4 separate regions of the Homo sapiens genome follow, and regions 2, 3 and 4 are each linked to region 1. The links are contacts of gene promoters, found by promoter capture Hi-C in blood cells and fetal thymus (Javierre and others, 2016). All regions are on one chromosome and are shown on one strand. Each heading gives the region's core, a stretch centred on a gene start or on the middle of the fragment in contact. The rest is flanking DNA. Distances are from core to core; before and after follow the strand shown.

Region 1 (2,818 bases), core at 169-2,668:
AACACAGCCCTGACTGCTTTTTAAACTAATTAGTGAGCTCTTTGGGGAGCAGATTCTACATCTTATTCACTCATCTGGAAGAAACCTCCATCATAATCACTAAAAAATAATATTTGTCCATCTTACTAATGCCCAGAAATTATTTTGGCTATGCCTCCACTTCCTTTCCAGCAGACTACATACAGCCTGGCCAACACGGTGAAACCCTGTCTCTACTAAAAATAAAAAAATTAGTTGGCTGTGCTGGCGGGCACCTGTAGTCCCAGCTACCTGGGAGGCTGAGGAAGGAAAATCGCTTGAACCTGAGAGGCAGAGGTTGCAGTGAGCCCAGATCGTGCCACTGCATTCCAGCCTGGCGACAGAGTGAGAATCTGTCTCAAAAAAAAAAAAAAAGAAAAGAAAAGAAAGAAAATGTCACCAGGTGATAACTACTATGTTGACAACCGAAGTAGTGGAAGGGGGAACAGCAAGGGCAGAGCGGGGTTTCTTGTATAGGCAGGTTGTTTGAGGAAGGCTGCTCTGATAAGCTGGCATGGGAAGCAGTGCAGGATAAGGGAGGGATTTCCCCATGCAGTTATCTGGGGAAGAAGCTTTCCAGAAAGAAGAAACAAGCAGTGCAAAGGCCTAGAGGCTGGAGGATGCTTGGCTGTGCACCAGGAACAGCAAGGAAGCCAGCGTGGCCGGAGTAGGGGGTGCGAGGGGCCTTGCCTGTGAGCCTTAATAAATGTTTATAGGATTCTGATGAGACAGGAAAGCTACGGGGAAGGTCGGAGCAGGGGAGAGTCTGGTTCTTACTTAAAGGAACATTCCAGATGCTGAGGTGTGGAGAAGAGGTAGGGGGTGGAGGTTCAGGGGTGAGGATACGGAGTGGGAACAGGAACTGCGGCCAGGCAATTGGGAAACTACTGCAACTCTCCACGGAAGAGATTTTTAGCCAAAGATTGTTCAGCCAGTCTATGAGTATTTCAGGCCTCCGTATTTTCCATGTGTCAAGCCACTAGGCCTATTCGTCTTCCACTAGACCCCGCCCCACAACTGCTGCCTGGGAAATATTTGTTACTTGCACTGATAAAAATTCTTCACGGGAAGGAAATGGCTTTCAGTCCCCACCCCGCTCCACGATCCTTTCCCTGGATTTGGGGAGGGCCCCACACCCGGGCTGCGGACCTGGGCCTGCTCTCCCAGTGCTGACCCAGCCGGGGCCAGGGGCTTCGGATCAGCGTCCGCGTCCTGAGCTGGGGACGCAGGATTGGCGAGTCCCGCCCCGGCTGGGCCTGCAGCCCCTCGTACGTGGCCCCCCGGCCCCCGCTCCCCGCGCTCCCTCGGCTGCCCCCTGCCCTGCTCACCTGCGCCGCCGCCGCCGCCGCCGCCGCCGCCGGCCGGAGACCCGCGGCTTCGGGAGAGCTGGTTCTCAGTTTCGTTTTCCCCTTGGACTCCGCCTTCCCTGCAGCCGCCCGGCCCCCTCTCGCACAAGCCCTCGTCTGCTACGGGATTGGGGTAAATTGGCGCTGGATCCAGAGTGCGCGCGAGAGGCACTGGCGGGCGGGCTTGGCACCGGCGGGCGGGCTTGGCACCGGCAGGCGGGCTTGGCACCCACGTGCTGCCCCTGCACGGCCAGGACCCTGCACCCCCATCCCCCGCCCCCGGGGCTCCTAGGGTTCTCCGCTGGCCTAGTCCGCTGGCCGCACTAGGTTCTCGAATCAAGGGTTCCACTTACTCTCAACACAAATATTTGGGGTGGGGTTGGGAAGATGGATCTTACCAGCTCCATTCTACAATAGAGGAAACTGAGTAAATGAACTCACCCAGGGGTCCTGCCGCTCGTAAGTGGCAAAGCCAGGATTCAGTTCAAGTCGGGGCCTGTAAACACCAAAGCACTCTTTCCCTCTTGCCACACCGCGGCCCCCTCACCTTTACAAGCCTGGGGATCAGAGGCCTGGGGGCGTAATCTCCTTCACTCCGCTCCCACCCATCCATTCATTCATGAGCAGACACTTGCCAGCCGCTGTAAAAGCACCTGTGGGCCAGTCCTGCTGCTAAATAGAGACACCTGCTTCCTACAGTACCCCAGGGAGCTTCCTACCATAGTCCAACACCAGTAGTCCTCGATTTATAGAAATTCTACTCACCTGATGGACTGCGACACACTCCCAGAGTCACACAGAGTTCCAGAGTTCATTGGCACAGTGACTAATGAGTATTGAGGCACAGAGAATTTGGATTAACACAGGTAGTAAGCAGCGGAGTTAGAATTATAACCAGGAGTTTGTACTCTCAGTATCTTAGCTGGGATAAGAGAGGAAGGTGGTCCAAAGACAGACCTCAAATATACATTAAATATTATGCCTAGGCCGGCGCGGTGGCTCATGCCTGTAATCCCAGAAATTTGGGAGGCTGAGACGGGCGGATCACCTGAGGTCAGGAGTTCAGGACCAGCCTGGCCAACATGGCAAAACCCCGTCTCTACTAAAAAACACAAAAATTAGCTGGGCGTGGTGGCAGGCACCTGTAATCCCAGCTACTCCAGAGGCTGAGGCAGGGAGAATTGCTTGAACCTGGGAGGCAGAGATTGTAGTGAGCTGAGATCATGCCACTACACTCCAGCCTGGGTGACAGAGTGGGACTCCAATTCAAAAAAAAAAAAAAAAAATTACACCTAGGCAGGCATCCTCTCCAGCCTCCCTTCTCCATCCCCCAACAACCCCACATTGCAGGGTATCAACAACTAAAATCTACACTTTCCTTGTAGCTCTGGTCCTGGGCATAGCTTAAGTCCCCTATATGTAAAGCACTGGCGGGAGGTTTAGAAGGTAGACAT
Region 2 (2,818 bases), core at 230-2,729, 1.7 Mb after region 1:
CTTCAGAAACATTGTACTGGCCAGGCAGGTGGCTCATCCTGTAATCCCAGCACTTTGGGATGCCAAGGTGTGTGGATCGCTTGCCAGGAGTTTGAGACCAGGCTGGGCAGCATGGCAAAATCCCATCTCTACAAAAAATACAAAAATTAGCCAGGTGTGGTGGCACATGCCTATAGTCCCAGCTACTTGGGAGGACTGCTTGAGCCCAGGAGGCAGAGGTTGCAGTGAACCAAGATCATGCCACTGCACTCCAGGATGGGTGACAGAGCAAAACTTCATCTCAAAAACAACAAACAAACAAACATTGTACTAAGTGAAAGGAACCAGTCACAAACGGCCACATATTATATGATTCCATTTATGTGAAATGCTCTGAATAGGCAAATCCTTAGGGACAGAAAATAGATTAGTGGTTGCCAGGGGAGGAAGAAATTGGGAGGCATGAGGTTTCTAGAATTAGACAGTGGTGATGGTTGCACAGTCTTGAAAATGTACTAAAAACCACTGAATTGTTCATTTAACAGGGACAAATTTTATGTATGATGTGTAAATTATGTCTCAATTTCTTAAAAAGTAGATCTGTGTGTTGTCATATATTCTATGTCCAGAAAACTTCTTTACTTTTTACATAAGATAATTTAAAAATTACCAGAGCAGTATATGTCAACTACATTTAAAAAATTACAATAAAGACCTGAATGTTTTTGCTGAAACTCTATATTCTAAAACTGACAAAAAATAGTGTACACAATAGATAACTTCTTTGTCATATTTCTCTATTCAAAATCTTGTGAATATTTGTATTTCTCAATATGTTATTGCCAAAAGATGTATATTTTTATTTTTTGCTGTACTGGCACAAATTTGGGTTACAATGTCTTCTAAAATGTTAAAATAAAAATGGCATTTTTGTTAGTTTCTCATAATAATAGCTTTATGGCTAATTTTGAAAGACCCTATTTGTAAGTTTTCAAAGACACATTTTAAGAATTGGACATTTTTGTATATGTTGCTAAACATTAGCTGGCATGGCTTTAGAATTAAATATTATTATTATATGGAAATTCATGAAGAGACAAATACTGGACAAGTTAAGATAAGGTGAGAAGATGTTTTCAGGGACCAGGACATATAATTTAAATTCAAAAACTTCTGGAAAATATAGAAAAGTATCTGCTTTGCTGCAAAATAAATTTTCCCTAATTTTTTTCAATTTATTTAAGGCAGCAAGATATATATTTTACTCTTAAAATATTTAACTTGTATTGCTATGTTAATAACTTTTCAAAGTACAACTTTTCAATTTTCTAGTATACCAAAGATATTCCTCCTAAATGGGTTTCTTCCTTTTTACTCATTGAAACTAAATGCAGTTCAGTTATTTGATTAGTTGATGCTAGAATTTGACCTGGAGCTTATATAATTAGAAGAGACACTAGTTTTCCTCATTTAAAAGCCTGGTTAGCATACTACGGTCTCGTTTCAGGGGAAGTCAAGCCTCTCTACTGCTTCTTTTTATAACCTTTAAGTTAATTCAGAACCCAGATAAGCCTTGATCTGAGGATGATATAACCACCGCAGGCAACATGGGGTAAGTATGCGCTTTTATATGCTTTAAGGGGCACTGAAAGGGGAAACAATTTTATAAGAGATGAAAACCCATCAATCCTTACCACGTGGTGTACTAATTTAAATCCAATATATGCTAACATTTATTTGAGGTAGGCATTCAAAGAAATAACTTTTATTTAAGAGTTATAACAATTTGTAAAACATTTATTTCCTTGCTTAATTTTTATATTATGTCTTAACTGCGCTTTGCAGGTTATCGATAAACTGGAGACTGAAGTTGTTCTGCATATTAATAAATATAGTTGAAGATGAGTTAAATTTTGAGAGCAGTCTTAAAGAAAGGATGCTAGACAGCGTAAATCTGACATGGACATGCCTCTTTGGGATTAAGAATAATTAAAGAATGAAAAAGATTAGGGATGGAGGGAGATTGGTTTATTCCTTTCTAACACAGAAAAAGAATAGGGGAATCTTCAGCATTCACTCCCCTATGTACAGAACAAAAAACATATCCTGATTGAAAATGTGTACTGATTAATTACATGGGGGCTTTATTGGTGAAACCTAATTCTAAACACTTCATGGGGCTTTGGTGTGTAATGAGAAGAACTGAGTTTCACTTAAACATTGTCTTAAGTGAGAATAGCGTTCTATTATAATTAGTATTGGAATTATGTGAGTTTTTATATGCTGAAATAGTATTCTGAATATGTAGAAATCTCTATATCACCCTTTTATATTTTTAATAGCCCCTTTTAATACAAAATCATATTGCTGTAAATGGAATAGCTATTTCATTGAAGGCTACTTCTGAAGGATTCAACATAATGATCAGAAATGTATCCTAGAGAAAAAAGTTTTTGATGCACATTTATTCTAAACATTTTTCACAAACTGAATTAATTAATGTCTACATTTTTCATAACCATGGGCTCTGGAAATGCAATCTAAACTCATTTGAAAACTCAGAGGCTTTTGAAACAAGATGACCATACTATTGGTTTTTTTTTTTTTCTTTTTTCTTTTCTTTTTTTAGACAAGGTCTCACTTTGTCACCTGGGCTCAAGCAATCCTCCCACCTCAGCCCCCACAGGTAACTGAGACCACAGGTGCACACCACCACACCCGGCTAATTTTTGTATTTTTTGTAGAGATGGGGTTTCGTCATGTTGCTCAGGTTGGTCTTGAACTCCTGATCTCAAGCAGTCCTCCCACTTCAGCCTCCCAAAGTGCTGGGATTACAGGT
Region 3 (2,818 bases), core at 168-2,667, 1.4 Mb after region 1:
ATATTCCTGATACAAGGAGAAGACACATATTTGCAGCCTTTTCAGAGTTACCACTGAATATCCTAGCAAAAGAAACCAATATAAAGAGAAACTTACCTTCTCAATATTTCCATATAAGCAGAACAGGTTGAAGACTCTTGAACAATTCATTTTTAGTTGATGTAATCCACTAACCATTACAACTGAACCAGAGGGATTTCCTCCATGCATGTAAGAGGAAGAAGCCTGTGGTAATGGATAAGCAACAAGTTCAGGTGTATCTCGAGAGCCCATTCTGTAACGACTTGGTAAAGGCAATAATGGACCATGGGATCCTATAAAAATGATCAAAATAAATAAATTAGTTAACATATACACATAGTTGTTTGTAAATACTTTAGTAGATATACTGCACCACACACAAAAAATAAACTCTTAATATTAGCTAGTTTGATGTACAAAGAAAACTCAAATGTATGAATATTTCAGTATAACCTGAGGAAAATTAATAAAATCTGTATTCATTTGCACCAGATACAATATATATTGACCTATACCTGCATACACCAGGCTATAAGCTTACATTTTTAAAAAATTATAGTTTAACAAGACTATGGGGGGTTAAGAAAATGAATGTAAAGTCTGGGGCTACTGTATATAAATTATACCTCAAATTTAAAAAATAAACCTCCTGCCAATGTCTTTTGGAGGAGTAATAATATTACATGTACAGTGAAATCTGGGAAGCTATCTCTACACAGATATAACAAAAAGAACCTCTTCAGTTCCACTGAAAAGTTGTTTCCTTGAATATATTTTACTATGTACTTTCAGGTTGGTATCTTATTCCCCTAATTCTAATTTAGGAAACTAAAACCCTAGATTTAGTTAATAACTCAACTACACACAGGTGTCTTATTACTCTACAACTTCCATTTTTTTGAAACAGTATCAAGAACCCAGAAGGAAATAATGCCTGAGTATCTAAAACTATTTCAGCAGAAAAACACACTCAAATCTATGTCTCTTACATTGAGAATCCTCATTAAGAATCAACTTGCTAACTTTAGAGTAGCTTTAAACAACTTTATCTGTTTTTCCCATCCACAACAGATCTAACAAAAAATAAAGCTAGAGTGTAGAATGAAAAGAAATGAGGGTGGAGAAACTGACACTCAAAGTAGACACAGGGCACATTTTACAGCAATAAGAAGAAAGGCAGAGGAACTCAAAAGCAGCAACTAAGATGGAGACATGCAGCTTAGAAACAGAAACCCTACACATCTTAGATGCTCCTAATAATAACAGAAGCAACATCTAGGGTACATGCAAAGGTCCCCCTGATGTGCAAAACCAATCCAAAAACCCAAGTCCTTTCTCTATTTCTCAAGAAGAGTATGTAATGCCACTGAGTTGCACTTGTATATAGGACTAAGGGACAACTGTCATCTATCTACTAAGTGAGTTACTAAGAACTACTAAATTTTGGTATTCATAACATACTATTAGAGCTTATGGTGGACTCCAATTTTTGGTATTCTAACAGCTGCCATTCATAACAACACAGTAACACCACCACCAAGCACACACAAACACGGTGTGAATTTCTGCAATTTTAGGGAGGAATACTTTATCAATGTATCATCAGTGTCTCCTTAAATTGGTCATGGATTTCAACTACTCCTTTTATTGGCAATTGGTAGTTTAACAAAACAATCCATATGAGCGACTGTTTAGTAATTAGTTTTTAGGCTGTTTAGTAATTATTTTAGCCTCTAATTTAGACTCTCATACACACACCAAGATTCAAATATCAATTATTCTTATTCCTATTGCAAAAGTACATATACATAATATACTGCCTCCCCGCCACCTACCATTTGCTTGTACAGTAATGACATTTCACTATCATCACACTAAATTTTCTTTTTCATGGAAGTAGAAAGACACATGGTAGACAGGCAGTGGAAACTTTTACTCTATGTATAGTGGCTAAAGTCCAAAACCTCTGAGATCTACTGCCCTAAGTAACAACCAAAATCAGTCCACAAGAATAACTGATGTTTATAATTATGACTTTGAGCCATCATTATTAAATTATCTTATCTATACTACTTAAAGTATTACCTATATTATTTAAGATAAGAAAAATCAGACGTCTTTTAAAAGTTTTCTATACTAAATTGATAATAGAAAGTCTGGGTGTTTAAAAAACTAATGCTTCAAATATTTAAAAAACTGACATGGAAAAATGCTACATAAATGGTATATTAACATCTTGAAGGCATTTTTCATCTTTCAAGCTTTAAAATCTTTCGTCTACAAACCATATCCAAAGATGCTACAAATTAATACACAAACTCTTCTTGAGCTTACAGCAAATAAATCTATGTATCAATTTCTGCCATGGTTCAACTATGAAAGCTTCTACCAGTTCATATCATTAAGTCTGGGCTTCCCAAATTAAAAGAGGTAAAGAATTGTGATGATTCACATAGATTTCATACTGCTATAATAAACCAATGAATAAACTTAATCTGATGGAATCTATGGGTCCTGAACCATAATTAACTCTTTCTATTCCCTTTCTTATAGTCGTCACATAGGAAAAGGAAAGGTCATCTATAAGGTGATCCCAAAATGCAAGTAAACCTGTTTTGCTGAAGCGCTGATCTGAAGGGATACATTTGTGATTTGCAATATTTGTAAAAAGGCTCAATATCACTAGCACACATCCCCCATCTTTGCTTTTTCCCCTATTACTCATCTTACTTCTCTTCTCTGCCTCTTTATTCGCTCTCTTTCCTCCTATACCCCAATTCTGCTTACTTCCCTAGAA
Region 4 (2,818 bases), core at 167-2,666, 1.1 Mb after region 1:
TTGGCTTCAACTTCAAGTTGCTGGCTGCATTAGACCCCAACGAGAAAGTCAGCCTGTCCTTTAAAGCTTTGAAACCAGGGATTCATTTCTCTCTAGCTATGAAAGTCCTAGATGGCATCTTCTTCCAATATAAGACTATCTCATCTACACTGAAAATCTGTCATTTAGTGTAGCCACCTTCATCAGTGATCTTTCCTAGATCTCTTGGATAACCTGTTGCCACTTCTACTTTAGCACTTACTGCATCACCTTGATTTTACGTTATGTAATAGAGATGGCTTCTTTCCTTAAATATCATCAACCAACTTCTGCTAGCTTCAAACTTTTCTTCTACAGCTTCTTCACCTCTTAGCTTTCACAGAATTGAAGAGAGTTGGGGCCTTGCTCTGGATTAGGCTTTGGCTTAAGAAAATGTTGTGACTGGTTTAATCTTCTATCGAGACTACTCAAACTTTCTTCGAATCAGCAGTAAGGCTGTTTTGCTTTCTTATCATTTGTATCTTCACTAGAGTAGCACTTTTTCTTTCCTTCAACAACTTTTTCCTTTGCATTCACAACTTGGCTAACTGGTGCAAGAGACCTACTTTTTGACATATCTTAGCTTTCAACATGCCTTCCTCACTAGGCTTAATCATGTGTAGCTTGTGATTTAAAGTGAGAGACATGTGACACTTCCTCTCACTTTGTGGGGAAAAGAAAGAGAGATCAGACTGTTACTGTGTCTATGTAGAAAGAAGTCGACCTAAGAGACTCCATTTTGTTCAGTACTAAGAAAAATTCTTCTGCCTTGAGATGCTGTTAATCTGTAACCCTACTCCCAACCCTGTGCTCACAGAAATATGTGCTGTGTCAACTCAAGGTTTAATGGATTAAGGGCTCTGCGGGATGTGCTTTGTTAAACAAATGCTTGAAGGCAGCATGCTTGTTAAAAGTCATCACCACTCCCTATTCTCAAGTACCCAGGGACACAATACACTGCAGAAGGCCGCAGGGACCTCTGCCTAGGAAAACCAGGTATTGTCCAAGGTTTCTCCCCGTGCGATAGTCTGAAATATGGCCTCATGAGAAGGGAAAGACCTGACCGTCCCCCAGCCCGACACCCGACACCCATAAAGGGTCTGTGCTGAGGAGGATTAGTAAAAGAGGAAGGCCTCTTTGCAGTTGAGATAAGGGGAAGGCATCTGTCTCCTGCTCATCCCTGGGCAATGGAATGTCTTGGTGTAAAACCCGATTGTATATTCCATCTACTGAGATACGAGAAAACCGCCTTAAGGCTGGAGGTGGGACATGCTGGCAGCAAAACTGCTCTTTAAGGCATTGAGATGTTTATGTATACGCACATCAAAAGCACAGCACTTTTTTCTTTACCTTGTTTATGATGCAGAGATATGTGTTCACATGTTTTCCTGCTGACCCTCTCTCCACTATTACCCTATTGTCCTGCGACATCCCCTTCTCCGAGAAACGCCCGATAATGATCAATAAATACTAAGGGAACTCACAGACTGGTGCTGGTGTGGGTCCTCCGTATGCTGAGCGCCGGTCCCCTCGACCCACTTTTCTTTCTCTATACTTTGTCTCTGTGTCTCTTTCTTTTCTCAAGTCTCTCGTCCACCTGACAAGAAGCACCCACAGGTGTGGAGGGGCAGGCCACCCCTTCATCACTTGAACACTTAGAGGTCATCGTAGAGTTATTAATTGGCCTAATTTCAATGTTGTTGTGTCTCAGGGAAAAGGGAAGCCTGAGGAGAGGGAGAGTGATGGGGGAAGGCCAGTGGTTGGAACATTCGGAACACACACAACATGTATCAATTAAGTTTGTCATCTTCTTTGGGCACAGTTTGTAGTGCCCCAATTACAATAGTAACATCAAATATCACTGACCAGAGATGATCATAACTGATATAATAATAAAGAAGATGTTTGAAATACTGCAAGAATTACCAAAATGAAACAGAGGCACAGACTGAGCACATGTTGTTGGAAGCATGATACCAATAGACTTGCTTGAGGCGGGGTTGCCACAAATTTTCCATTTTAAAAAAAAGCGTGATATATGCAAAGAACAATAAAGCAAGGCACAATGAGATGAGGGTTGCCTGGCCCTATCTATGCACCTTCGTTGGAGCAGCCTAGGCTTACCTGAGGAGTCAACACAATTTGCATGTGTGGGGCAATACTAAAGGGAATATAGGTAAGTAGCAACGGATGTGACATAGACAATGGCTAGAGGACTCCACACAAGGGAAATATCAAATGGGCCTGACCTCTCAGGCATGAAGAAGCTGAGCCTTGGGAGACATAGATATGAATCACCTACACAGAACGTGAGCATTTCACACTGGGGGAAGTGAATGAGTAGAGACAGATGGAGCACTGAGCATGCCCTGAGATGCTCTGGAGAGAGAAGCAGCTTTTCTTCTGTTTGATAAAGTTGATCCCACCTTGCTTTTTTTTTTCTTTTTTTTTTGAGACAGGGCCTCTCTCTGTCGCCCAGGCTGGGGTGCAGTGGCCAGGTTGGTTTCAAACTCTTGGCCTCAAGTGATCCGCCCACCTCGGCCTCCCAAAGTGCTGGGAATCCAGGCAGGAGGCACCGCACCCAGCCCCACCTTGCTTAAAGACTCTGTAATAGCTACCTTAATGATATGCTAATTTTCCTCATGTCATTTCTACTGGACCTAAACCTATAATTATATCCATTTATCCCATGAGGCCAATTACAAAGTCGAACCCTAGAGAAAACACATACCAAAACCAAAAAAAAAAAAAAGCTTTTCAAATTTTGCTTATTTACTCAGAAAACCTGAGTAATACTATT

Evidence for each region. Contacts are between HindIII fragments. The CHiCAGO score rates a contact against its expected background, and 5 or more counts as called.
Region 2: a contact is called between the fragment with the promoter of ARHGEF33 here and the fragment with the promoter of EIF2AK2 in region 1, in 1 of 17 cell types (monocytes). The highest score is 6.5, in monocytes.
Region 3: a contact is called between a fragment that was not itself captured here and the fragment with the promoter of EIF2AK2 in region 1, in 1 of 17 cell types (total CD8 T cells). The highest score is 5.1, in total CD8 T cells.
Region 4: a contact is called between a fragment that was not itself captured here and the fragment with the promoter of EIF2AK2 in region 1, in 1 of 17 cell types (total B cells). The highest score is 5.3, in total B cells.

What each region holds. Positions count from the first base shown.
Region 1 is chr2:37,155,562-37,158,379 of GRCh38, forward strand. EIF2AK2 (eukaryotic translation initiation factor 2 alpha kinase 2) reads right to left here and starts at 1,419. Exons shown (of 17, transcript NM_001135651.3): 1 at 1,347-1,419. RefSeq lists silencers at 1,209-1,328, 1,529-1,718 and an enhancer at 1,349-1,478. The HindIII fragment of the contact is 2,417 bases long and covers 589-2,818 here.
Region 2 is chr2:38,888,396-38,891,213 of GRCh38, forward strand. ARHGEF33 (Rho guanine nucleotide exchange factor 33) reads left to right here and starts at 1,480. Exons shown (of 18, transcript NM_001145451.5): 1 at 1,480-1,591. The HindIII fragment of the contact is 7,511 bases long and covers 1-2,818 here.
Region 3 is chr2:38,573,114-38,575,931 of GRCh38, forward strand. It overlaps HNRNPLL (heterogeneous nuclear ribonucleoprotein L like), which reads right to left. Exons shown (of 13, transcript NM_138394.4): 8 at 97-314. Among named protein-coding and RNA genes, the nearest start is that of HNRNPLL, 28 kb to the right of the region's middle. The HindIII fragment of the contact is 1,725 bases long and covers 556-2,280 here.
Region 4 is chr2:38,277,100-38,279,917 of GRCh38, forward strand. No RefSeq gene overlaps it. Among named protein-coding and RNA genes, the nearest start is that of ATL2, 99 kb to the right of the region's middle. RefSeq lists enhancers at 1-935, 936-1,919. The HindIII fragment of the contact is 2,705 bases long and covers 65-2,769 here.